Regions from separate parts of the Homo sapiens genome. Here region 2 is linked to region 1. The links are contacts of gene promoters, found by promoter capture Hi-C in human tissues and cell types (Jung and others, 2019). All regions are on one chromosome and are shown on one strand. The core of a region is centred on a gene start or on the middle of the fragment in contact, and the rest is flanking DNA. Distances in the headings are between cores, read along the strand shown. Region 1 holds the start of SMLR1 (small leucine rich protein 1). Region 2 overlaps LOC112267974 (a long non-coding RNA gene).

The links. Contacts are between HindIII fragments. The study calls those that stand out against the background at their distance.
Region 2: a contact is called between a fragment that was not itself captured here and the fragment with the promoter of SMLR1 in region 1, in 1 of the 25 tissues and cell types used here (aorta).

What each region holds. Positions count from the first base shown.
Region 1 is chr6:130,823,529-130,828,733 of GRCh38, forward strand. SMLR1 (small leucine rich protein 1) reads left to right here and starts at 3,878. Exons shown (of 2, transcript NM_001195597.2): 1 at 3,878-4,123. The coding sequence starts at 3,886. RefSeq lists an enhancer at 2,621-2,915. The HindIII fragment of the contact is 14,306 bases long and covers 1-5,205 here.
Region 2 is chr6:130,319,541-130,325,167 of GRCh38, forward strand. LOC112267974 (a long non-coding RNA gene) reads left to right here. Exons shown (of 3, transcript XR_002956398.2): 3 at 1-3,962. It also overlaps a transcript of SAMD3 not described here. Among named protein-coding and RNA genes, the nearest start is that of TMEM200A, 44 kb to the right of the region's middle. The HindIII fragment of the contact is 6,413 bases long and covers 1-5,438 here.

The DNA of each region.
Region 1 (5,205 bases), core at 2,628-5,127:
AAAAGCTGAGTATGTGAAGGAACTGGAACTCCCATACACTGCTGGTGGGGTTACGAAATTGTATAACCACTTCGGAAAACAGTCTGACAATTTCTTAAAATGTCAACATACATTTACCATATGATCCAGCATTTCTACTAGGTATTTCTCCAAGAGAAATGGAAGCACATGTATGTATAAAGACTAGTACAGGAATGTTCATAGCAGCTTTATTTGTAGTAGCCTAAAATGGGAAGCAGCCCAAATGTCCACGAACAGGTGAATGAATAAACAAATGGATATCTATACAATGAAATGGTATTCAGCAATACAAAACAATGAAATTGACATATATGACAATATGAATGAATTTCAAATAATTATGATGAGTGAAGGAAGCTAGGTAGAAAGAGACATATTGCATGACTCCATTCATATAAAATTCTAGAAAGTGCAAATGAATGTACAGTAACAGATAATAAATGAGTGATTGCCTGAGGATTGAGGGAGTGGGAGGGGTGGGGGACAGGGATAGGAAAGGACACAAGAAAACTTTGGGGGTGGTGGGTATGTTCACCATTTGATTGTGTTGATGAATTTGTGGGCATATCCATATGTCAAAACATATCAAATTGTACACTTGAGATATGTGCAGTTCGTTGTATGCAATTGTACCCCAGATGAGCTACTTAAAGAGACAAAAAAAGGAAAAACTTTACAATTATGTTCTCAAAACTTTCTGTGTGGATCGGGATTACCTTGGATCCTGTAGATGGTACTACTTATCTCCTCTCTTTCTTGAAACTTTCTTTTGCCACCATTTTCCTAACATTATTCCCTCTAGGCTCCTTTCTCACCTCTCAGAGCCTCCTGTCTTCTCTGTTTTTTTCTTGGTTCTTATCCTTCCTCCTATGTCTTAAACAAGAGCATTCTTTAGGGTCTGTAGTTGGTTTCTCTTTTATTCTGATATATACTCCTTTCTGAGGCATCTCTCCATCCTTCCACCTCAGCTACTATCTATACAATAATAAATCCCAAATCTACATGGCAAGACTTGGCCTCTCCATATTCCTACCAGGCTCCGATCAAACACCTCTACACCACTTCCAACTTAAGACTGCAAAATGACATATCTTCCCCCATCCACACCTGCTGCCCAGCATGTGTTGAGGTCTCGGTTTGCAGCACCACCATCTCTGCAGTTAACCATTGCACAGTGGATGAGAGCATGGGCACTGGATTTGAGTCCTAACTTTGTCACTTATCAGATTTGTTTCTTGGGCAAGTCATTTACCTTCTCTTTGCTTTGCTTCTTCATCTTTATGAGTCTGTTCCACATAAGATTACTGTGAGGATTAAATAAGATTATAAACATAAACTGTTGTATATCGTGCCTGACAAATAGTAAGTGTTCAAAGATTACTTTGTGGTAATCTTTGAATTGCATGTGTCACAGCTGTTTGTTTCATTTCTGCAGCTTTCTTGTCCCCTTCTCTCTCCCTCTGCCATCTCTAATCCCAAACTCATTATATCTTGCTACCATGATGAGACAGCCTATTCTGATCTCTTCTCTTCAGTCCCTTCTTTAAAGTCCTACCTAAGTGACCACTGAGCTCAGGTCAGGTCATGTACTTCCATGATCAAAGACCTTTAATTGGTCACCTTTGTTCAAATAGCATGGGACATAACAGGACATTCCAGAGTCTAATAGCTCTAACACCACCCCACTCTTCCAGCCTCAACGTGTAAGACACTCTCTGGCCTGAACCCCACATCACCCAGCTACTCTCAATTATTCTGCCCTATCCTCCTTAAACCCTAACCAGCGCTCCTGTCATGTGTTTGAGGAGGGCATTCTTCAGCTACCCACCTTCCAGGATCAGCTCAAATATCCCTCTTTCTTTTTTTCTTAGCCAGGTCTCATTCTGTCACCCAGGCTGTGGAGTGCAGTGGCACGATCATGGCTCACTGCAGCCTTGACCTCCCCAGGCTCAAGCAATCCTCCCACCTCAGCCTCCCGAGTAGCTAGGACTACAGGTGTATGCCACGGCACTTGGCTAATGTTTTATCTTTTGTAGAGACAGGATTTCACCATGTTTCCCAGGCTGGTCTCAAACTCCTGAGCTCAAGCAATCCACCCACCTCAGCCTCCCAAAGTGCTGAGATTACAGGCATGAGCCACTGTGCCCAGCCCAATTCCATGGCTGGAATTAATCAGTCTCTCTTCAGTGCTTCCACTATACTTTGTTTATATGTTGATCTGGAAGCTAACATTATTGTCATTTATTTTCCTGTTCCCCTAACTTACCTTTGTTTAGGCATTCAATGAAGGCTTGCTGAATGGAAATGAAACAGGAAGAAAGAATATGACAAACAGTCTGCCTAACAGCTGCCTGACATCTCCCTGGTAATGTCACTTGCTCACAGAGGTTCTTTGAAGATTGACACTTTACAAATTAGCATCCTGTTCAAACTGAAAGAGCACCAGAGAAACATCTCAATGGAAGGCATGCAAGTATAATAGCAGTAACACCATTCACAGGTTTGCAGAGTGGGAGAAGAGAAATACGTGAGTAAATGAATGCTGACTTAAACTCAGGTATTCTGAAGGGTTCCTCCTGAAATTAAGATGTCTCTCTTCTGAAAGAGAAGTTGCTAACTCTTCATTGATCAGGAATGCAGGCATGTACCCTGAGACCCTCTCCAGTCTTATTATTTTGTAAATTAGGGTGCAAACTTTACAGCTGGGGCTAAGACTGCATGACCATGCAAAGTCCCTGATGCAAGAATGTGGGAGGCACTGACAGCGGCTTGCCCTTGATAGACTCCTCCAGCCACCACTAAAGGGCGCCAGGGACAGGGTTAGAGTGTGACAGAAGGAATGAGCCCAAGAAGGTGGCTGCCAGTTTCTCTTCCCCACATTCTTCCAAATTCTCCAGGGCATCTTTTGAATATGACTCTTTTAGTCAGTTTTCATTTTTAGACCAATATTTTTGGAAATTTTTCACTAAAGCAGTCAATGACAACTCAACATAGTCAACAAGTCAATGTCAACTTTGACATTGGTCCATTGATTGCCCTTTCTTTTCCCAGAAACTCTGGAGTTACCACACAACCCATACCACTATCAATGAGAGGCCACCTTCTAACTGCGAATGGTGGACCACAGGAAAGGCCCAGTAGAGCAGAGGAGAGTATATGACCTCATGCAGCCAGCAAGGACGAATGTACCTCAGGAAGAAGGAGATGGGGCTACATCATGGGCCACTCCGCCACGGACACTGTGGCCATTCTCTGTTTGTCTATCTCCACTCTTAAAGGCCAGGGGCCATGACTTACTCTTCTTTGTATACCCAGCATCTAGTTCAGAAGTTGGGTTCTAGTAGAATTAAATGTTTGTTGAATAAATGAATAAACCAATGCACTTCTCAGAGAAGTATTCTGAGTAGGATATATGAGGAAGAATTTCTACTTGTGGGAAAAGCCTTGTTTCTCTTTCCTTGGTATTAATTGTATCAACTATGTATAAAGGAACATTCACTTTTTTCTAGACATAAGTACTTAGGTACAGTGGCATAACTATTAAGAAATTTTTAACTCTAAAATTTAGGAAATACAGGGAAAACTCTTCTGTGTCTGAGAATACATAGAAAGAATATACATAACAACAAGTTTTGCTTGGTTGGGTAATTTTCATTCCAAATAAACTTATCACAAAAAAACTCAGCTTCCCAAGGTCATTCCCCCGCTGCCAGATACATACTTATCTCTGAAAGAGCTTGGAAGATGGACCTTTCAATTCCTCTACAATTAGTAGCTGAGTTACAGAGTAACCTGCCAGCAATCCTATCAGCATTCATCAGACTATTTAAATAGAGCAAAGTCCACAAAAAATTCCACTGAGACATGCTGAGCAAAGGCCGGAGCCCCAGAAGAAAACAAGTACAGACTCAGAGGAAAGCTGCCCTGGTCCTGAGTGTGACTCCCATGGTCCCCGTGGGGTCTGTGTGGTTGGCAATGAGCTCTGTGCTGTCAGCTTTCATGAGGGAGCTCCCTGGCTGGTTCCTGTTCTTTGGGGTCTTCCTCCCCGTGACTTTGCTGCTGCTCCTCCTCATCGCCTACTTCAGGATCAAACTGATTGAGGGTAAGTGTGAGGCCACACAAGGAAGAACTTGGGCATCCTTTCCCACAGCACATCTTGAAATATACCGATGCACTGTCAGTGTTTTCTGGCCAGGAGAAACATATATATATATATTTTGTAGGTACTTCTCAATCAGTGTTCTCTCAAGTTCCTTGATCAATTTGGCCAAGTTTGATCCTTTCCACTGTGTGGATCTTGTGCTGAGATGTGAAGGTCTGCTGTAGGGGGCCCTCACGTGTAGCACCTCACAGACATACTGTGAATCAGCAATTTTGACATATGGTTGCTTGTCTCTCTCTCTCAAGGCAATAGAGTCACATATGTGAAAACATTGTTCATGGTCTGCCTTCTTTACATGACAGATGTGTTTATGTGGCCATGTGTGTGCATGTCCGTGCGTGTGTATGCGCCCGTGTGTGCACACACACAACTTTCTCATCCACTGAACTTCTGGTCAGGGAATGTTCCAAACATTCTGCTGTCACAGTCTTTGTAAATGTAAAGCCCTGATAGATAAATACTTGACCTTGGTGTAAACGTTCCATGGGATTATAGTCTTAAGGTGGAAAAAAACCAAACCAAACAAATAACTCAGGAAGCTTAAGGTGATTTGGAATGGACATTCGGGTCTTGGATTGACACTGTTTATTCTGCTATAATTAAAATTAATGAAACTGGGCTGTAACTAGATAGACTATGTGTTAATACTGTGCCAAGTACACATGAGATTAATATCATCAAGGTTAATAACTATTTTAGCAAAATCAACAAAGACCAGTCATATTTCTTAATTTGGATAGTGTCATATTAAAACAAATTTGAAAAACCCTCCTCTTTGAACATCTGTTTATGTAATAACATACATGAAGGCATTTCTTGGACTTGCCAAGCTTTTGTGGTAATCTTAGATCACTAATGCTATAATATATAACCTAACAGAAGTGCAATGAGGGATATTTCTTCCTAAGATGAGATTTGGAACATAAAGAAATCCTAGGAGACACAGACAGTATGTCATGGAATCAAGTTTTTCATCACAACTTACTCAAATATGCCCCTAGCCTTTCATTTTTCGTGTGTCT
Region 2 (5,627 bases), core at 982-3,481, 510 kb before region 1:
TCCAGGGAAAACATCTTGCAAAAATGAAGGTACATATTAGTTAAAGGAATTAATCACCAGCAGACCCTGCCCTACAAAAAATGTTGAAAGAAGTCTTTCAAGCATAAGGCAAATGATGCTAGATGGAAATTTGGTCCTATACAAAATAATGAAGAGAATTAAGAAATGGCATGTAGAAAAATATAGAGAATTTTCTTATTAAATATCTTTAAAATATAATCAATGGCTTGAGGCAGAATTAAAAACCAAATATTGTGGGGTTTTAATGTGTAAGTTTAACATGTAGAAGTAAAATGCATGAAAGCAGCAGCAAAACAAATAAACAAAAAATACCCAGAAGGGGAAAATTAGAAATAATTGTAGACCTGACATGGCTAAGAAAAGAATCAGTAAACTTGAAGCAGATCAATAAAAAGTTTCCAAAATGAATTGCAAAGAGAAAAAAATAAACACACACACACATGCACACACACACGTCCCCCAACACATTAAAAAATTGTGGAGAATATGAAAATGGAATAATACAAACTATTCAATCCATCCAAAAGAAGGCAGTAAAAGGAAAAAGGCAATAAAGAACAAATGGAAAAAATGGGAAATAAATATCAAACGCATATCTAATAAAAGACTCAGATCCAGAATATACAGAGAATTCTCAAAACTCAAACAACTCTTTCCTCTTCAAAAAAAGAAATGGGGGAAATCTGAACAGAAGCTTCATCAAAGAAGATAAATGAATAGCAAGTAGGTAGATGAAAAAATGTTAAATAGCACTAATCATTGAGGAAAGGAAAACTAAAGCCACAAAAGAATGTCACTATGCACGTATTAGAATGGCTAAAATTAAAAATCAAATGTTGGGGGAGAATGTGGAGCAACTGGAATTCTCACACATTGAATGGTGGGAATGGAAAATGGTCCTGCCACTTTGGAAAACAGCTTGGCAGTTTTAAAAAAGATACATATAGCTGCTGTATGACTCAGGTATTGCGTGCTCATGTAACTATCCAAGATAAATAAAAAGATTTGCACATGAATGTTTATAGCAACTTTGTTTGTAACGGCCCCAAACTAAAAACAACCTAAATGCCCATCAACAGGTGAATAGATTAACAGTGTTACAATCAATGACATAAAGAGGAATGGATTATTGATATACTCAAGAACATGGATAAATCTCAAAACAATTATGCTGATTATTATTTATATAAATGTCTAATTCCATTTATATAAAATTCTTAAAATTACACACTGATCTATAGTGATACACAGCAGGTCCATGTCTACCTTCCAGGTATATCTGACTTCATCTTCTGTGCTTCTCTCCTTTGCTTCCTGGGCTCCAGACAAGCAAATCTTGCTGTTCTTTGAACACATCAAGAATGTGCCTGTCTCAAGGTTTACATATTTGCTGATCCCTTGACATGGGTAATGCTTCCCCAGAGAGTTTGCTCCTTACTTCATTCTAGCCTCTCATCCAATATCACTTTGTCTAACATAACTCCCAATGATCTCTGCCTGCTTGTATTTACTAGGTGAGTGTGGGCTGGACCTAGTGACTCACTTGTAGCAAATAGAATGCAATGAAGTGATAGGATGCCACCTCCACAATGAGGTTACAAAAAGAGTCTGGCTTACATCTTTCATGCTCTGTACCAGTCTTTCTCATTCTATCTTTCTTAGAACTCTTGTCAATTGCCTTACGGACAGACCTATAAGGCAAGAAACTGATATCTGTGATCGAGAGCCAGTGAGCACCTGGGGCTTGTCACTGGCCATGTGAGTGAGCTTGGAAGCAGATACTCTCCCAGTTAAGCTTGGAAATGATTGCAGCCCCAACCCTGATGGCTGACTTGTGAGAGACCTCCTTGATTCACAGGCACCCAGTTCATCTGCACCTGGATTGCTGACCCATGGAAATGGCGAAGTAATAAATGTTTGTTATTTTAAGCTGCTAAACCTCTGGATAATTTTTTATGCAGCCATAGACAACTAATCCAGAGGTGTTCCTTAGAAAACTATGTAAAATATCCCCACTGACACATACAATTCCCAGTACTCATTGTCCTCTTACCTTGTTTTTTCTCATTCAAGACATTTTTCATCATTCAAAGTATTATTATATGTTATATATGTGCTAACTTGCTGTCTGTCTCTCATTCCCCCAATAAAATAAGATGAGAACAGCATCTTATATCTAGGGCCCGAAACACTGCCTGGCCAAGCTACGTATATATCCATTACATATTTGACACCTTTATATAAAATTTGAAAAAAAAGTCTAGACTATAAGGCAGGCTCCTTTTAGCTAGATATATTCTACATATATTCAGACCTCAACTCAAGGACAGAGGCCATCACAGAAAACCAGAAGAATGAGAAATTCCTTAAGCTACTGTGTCCCTTTTTCCCTAGGATCAGGCAAACACACTACTAATTCATCATACACTTAAAAATATTTGGAAAGGAGGAATAAGCAGAGAAGACAACTACCTCTCTGGTCAAGAGGAGCTGTGAGGGCCTGATCCAGCCACAGGGTGAAAATCACTATGGGAACTCATTAGTGAGGGTTTAACTGAGCCATCAGAGAGGCAAGGCTGGAGCGAGGCATCCAAAGGGGCCAGGCAAGGGTGGAATGGAGGCTAGTCCAGAATTGGGACAGGGACAGAGGCGGAATCTGGTTCTTGGTTGAGCCACAGCTTCAGGAACCAGCAGCAGGCTGAGAGAGAGAGAGATGGACCCCAAGGAAGTTCTTTTTCTGCCCAAGCCAGAGTACAGGTCGAGGCATCAAGGCTGGAGTGGAAGGCTGGGAATCAGGCATTTTCTCATAGATTGTAGGACGAGTAAGAGCAGAAGGTACAAGTGAGATGACACGAGACATCTCCACGGAGCTGTGACTACAGATAGGTCTGCATACATAGACAGTGTTCATTCAAAGTACATTGTAGTAGCCGGGCATGGTGACACACGCCTGTAATTCCAGCTACTCGGAGGCTGAGGCAGGAGAATCACTTGAACTCGGGAGGCAGAAGTTGCAGTGAGCCGAGATTGCACCACTGCACCCCAGCCTGGGCGACAGAGTGAGTGAGACTGTCTCAAAAAACCAAACCAAACCAAAGCAAATGGTTCAATGGTTTTATGTGGGATCAATGGTTTTATGAGCAAGGTGGAAACCTAACAACCATTCATGATATCATTTTTATGTTAAGATGATTTGAGTATTCCAAGCAACTAATGCAAAAGCAGAAATTTTGAAGAATCCTAAATTTGAGTTTACTTGAATTAACAATTTCTGTCAATCGTGGAAGCTGCTGCTATGGCCCACTAGGTGGCAGTATGGGAGTGATTTGCTGGTTAACAGAAAATGGAATAGGCTTGACTCTCAAGCCACTAGTTTGTTTTTTTCCTAGCATTTAAAAGTTGACAATAGAAAATGTTCATGGAATAATAGATGGAAAGTCAGACAAGGACTATCATGCAAAGGCCATTGACATATAAAATAAAACCGTTTTACAAGCAGTTACCATGGAGCATTTTATAAAAAGTCAAAACAGCAAATAATGTCTGCTGTTCATAATAAATATAATGTTTTTAAGTGATTCTTCTGATAGGTGAATGTTAGACAGATATAAAATAGAGACAAGTGAGAGAACAGGACAACGGATACCTCTTTCCCAGACCTTGCAAAAACCAGGCTCCCTGAAGCCTCTATGTTGGGGTTTTCAGTTCCCAGATCCCTACTTCCTCTTTACCCATCCACACTCCTGGCTTCCCTGTGAGATGCTCTTGGCAGCAAATCCCTGACAAGTCACATCATTCAAGTATCTTAATTCACTCTTTCACTTGTATTTCCCTGAAATTATGGACAAAGACACACTAATATTTTGCAAGGTAAAATTTCCAATTTTTTTTTTTTTTGTATGATGAGTGCTTAGACTATTGCTGTACATGTTAAGCACCATTCAGGAATTTCCTGTCCAGGCCAGGCATGGTGGCTCACACCTGTAATCCTAGCACTTTGGGAGGCCAAGGCAGGCGGATCACTTGAGGCCAGGAGTTCAAGACCAGCCTGGCCAACATGGTGAAACACCATCTCTACTTAAAATACAAAACTTATCTGGGCGTGGTGGCATGTGCCTGTAATCCCAGCTACTCAGGAGGCTGAGGCAGAAGAATTGTTTGAACCCGGGAGGCGGAGGTTGCAGTGAGCTGAGATCGTGACACTATACTGCAGCCTGGGTCACAGAGGTAGACTCTGTCTCAAAAAAAAAAAAAAAAAAAAAAAGAATTTCCCATCCAATCAGGTTCTAAGGGAAAAGGGCAGAAAATGTGTCTTCTGGTTCCCTTTCATTAGTGTCTTTTAAGTGCTGGCTATGCAGCATATGCTCAATAAATATTTAAACCAATGAATGAATAAATAAATGGCTCAATATGATGGTGTGCATGGGATGCACAAGGGATGAATGAATAAATACACTCTGGCATTTAACATCTTGGAACTTTTTTTTTATAACATATCAATCTTGCATGATTCAAAATAGAACACTTTAAATTTAAATAAACCTTCAAAATGTCTTAACATTTTACATAGAGCAAATTACTGTTAATAATTTACAAAGTTTAGAAAGTTTAGTTTGGAAAGATTAGTTTAATCTCAAAATACTGATCTAGGATAGCAGGCTTTTTAAATTAGCAGTTACCTTCGAGATCATTAGGTCAACCCTCTTATTTTCAGATTAGAAACGAGGACTCATATTTAGTGCTTTTTTCTCCTTTTAAACAGATTGCTGCTCGAATTTGGCAAAAGCCATACATATGATGAGTATGTTAACTGTGATTGATTTTGCTGTTAAGAAATGTTTGTGAAGAATATTCTTGACAGTCTATATTTTTCATATGGTTGAATGAATTTGTGTAATATTAAGGCATAATTATTTTTGGAACTAGCTTTTTTTACCATCAAAATATAAAGTTTCATTCTTAGACACTTTTCAAATTGTGAAGCACTTTCTGGAGTGTTTGTATCAGCTTACTCTACTTTCTTTCCCCTTGAAGTTATTTCTCTTTTCTTAAAGAAAGTAGGTTAAAATGCTGCTTATTAGGAAAATTAGGCTGGGAAGAAGCCGAAAGATCTGTTAAATACCTCAAGTGAATTCCTGAATTCAAAAAATCTGAACATTATCCTTGAAAACAGCTGAAAGTAAAATAACAAAAACTACTTTTTGGAGAACATTTTTTTTTTTTTGGAATAGAAAAATGTTAACTCATTCACAGATCTTGCCCAGATGCAATCGCCTACTGGTCTGGGTTCAGCCTACACACAAGAACAAATTCTTTCCCGGTGCCTCACACTGTGAGGCTGCAGTCCAATCTTGCCAAGGAGCCAGGGGTTCTTGTGTATCTTTTTATTGCTTTAAATTATAAGTTTGTCATTTTAAATTGAACATCTTTTTACTGCCATAAATATCAGTGGAGCCTTAAATGAAATACTGCACGTACAATTCAGCTCTGAAGAACTATATCCATCCATTCATAAACAAGAGCTCTATCGAGCAGGTTTTTCCTTTAGCAGAAATCTCATTGTAGTTTTATGTATTTATGTATATGTAGTATGTTAGTCAGGGTTC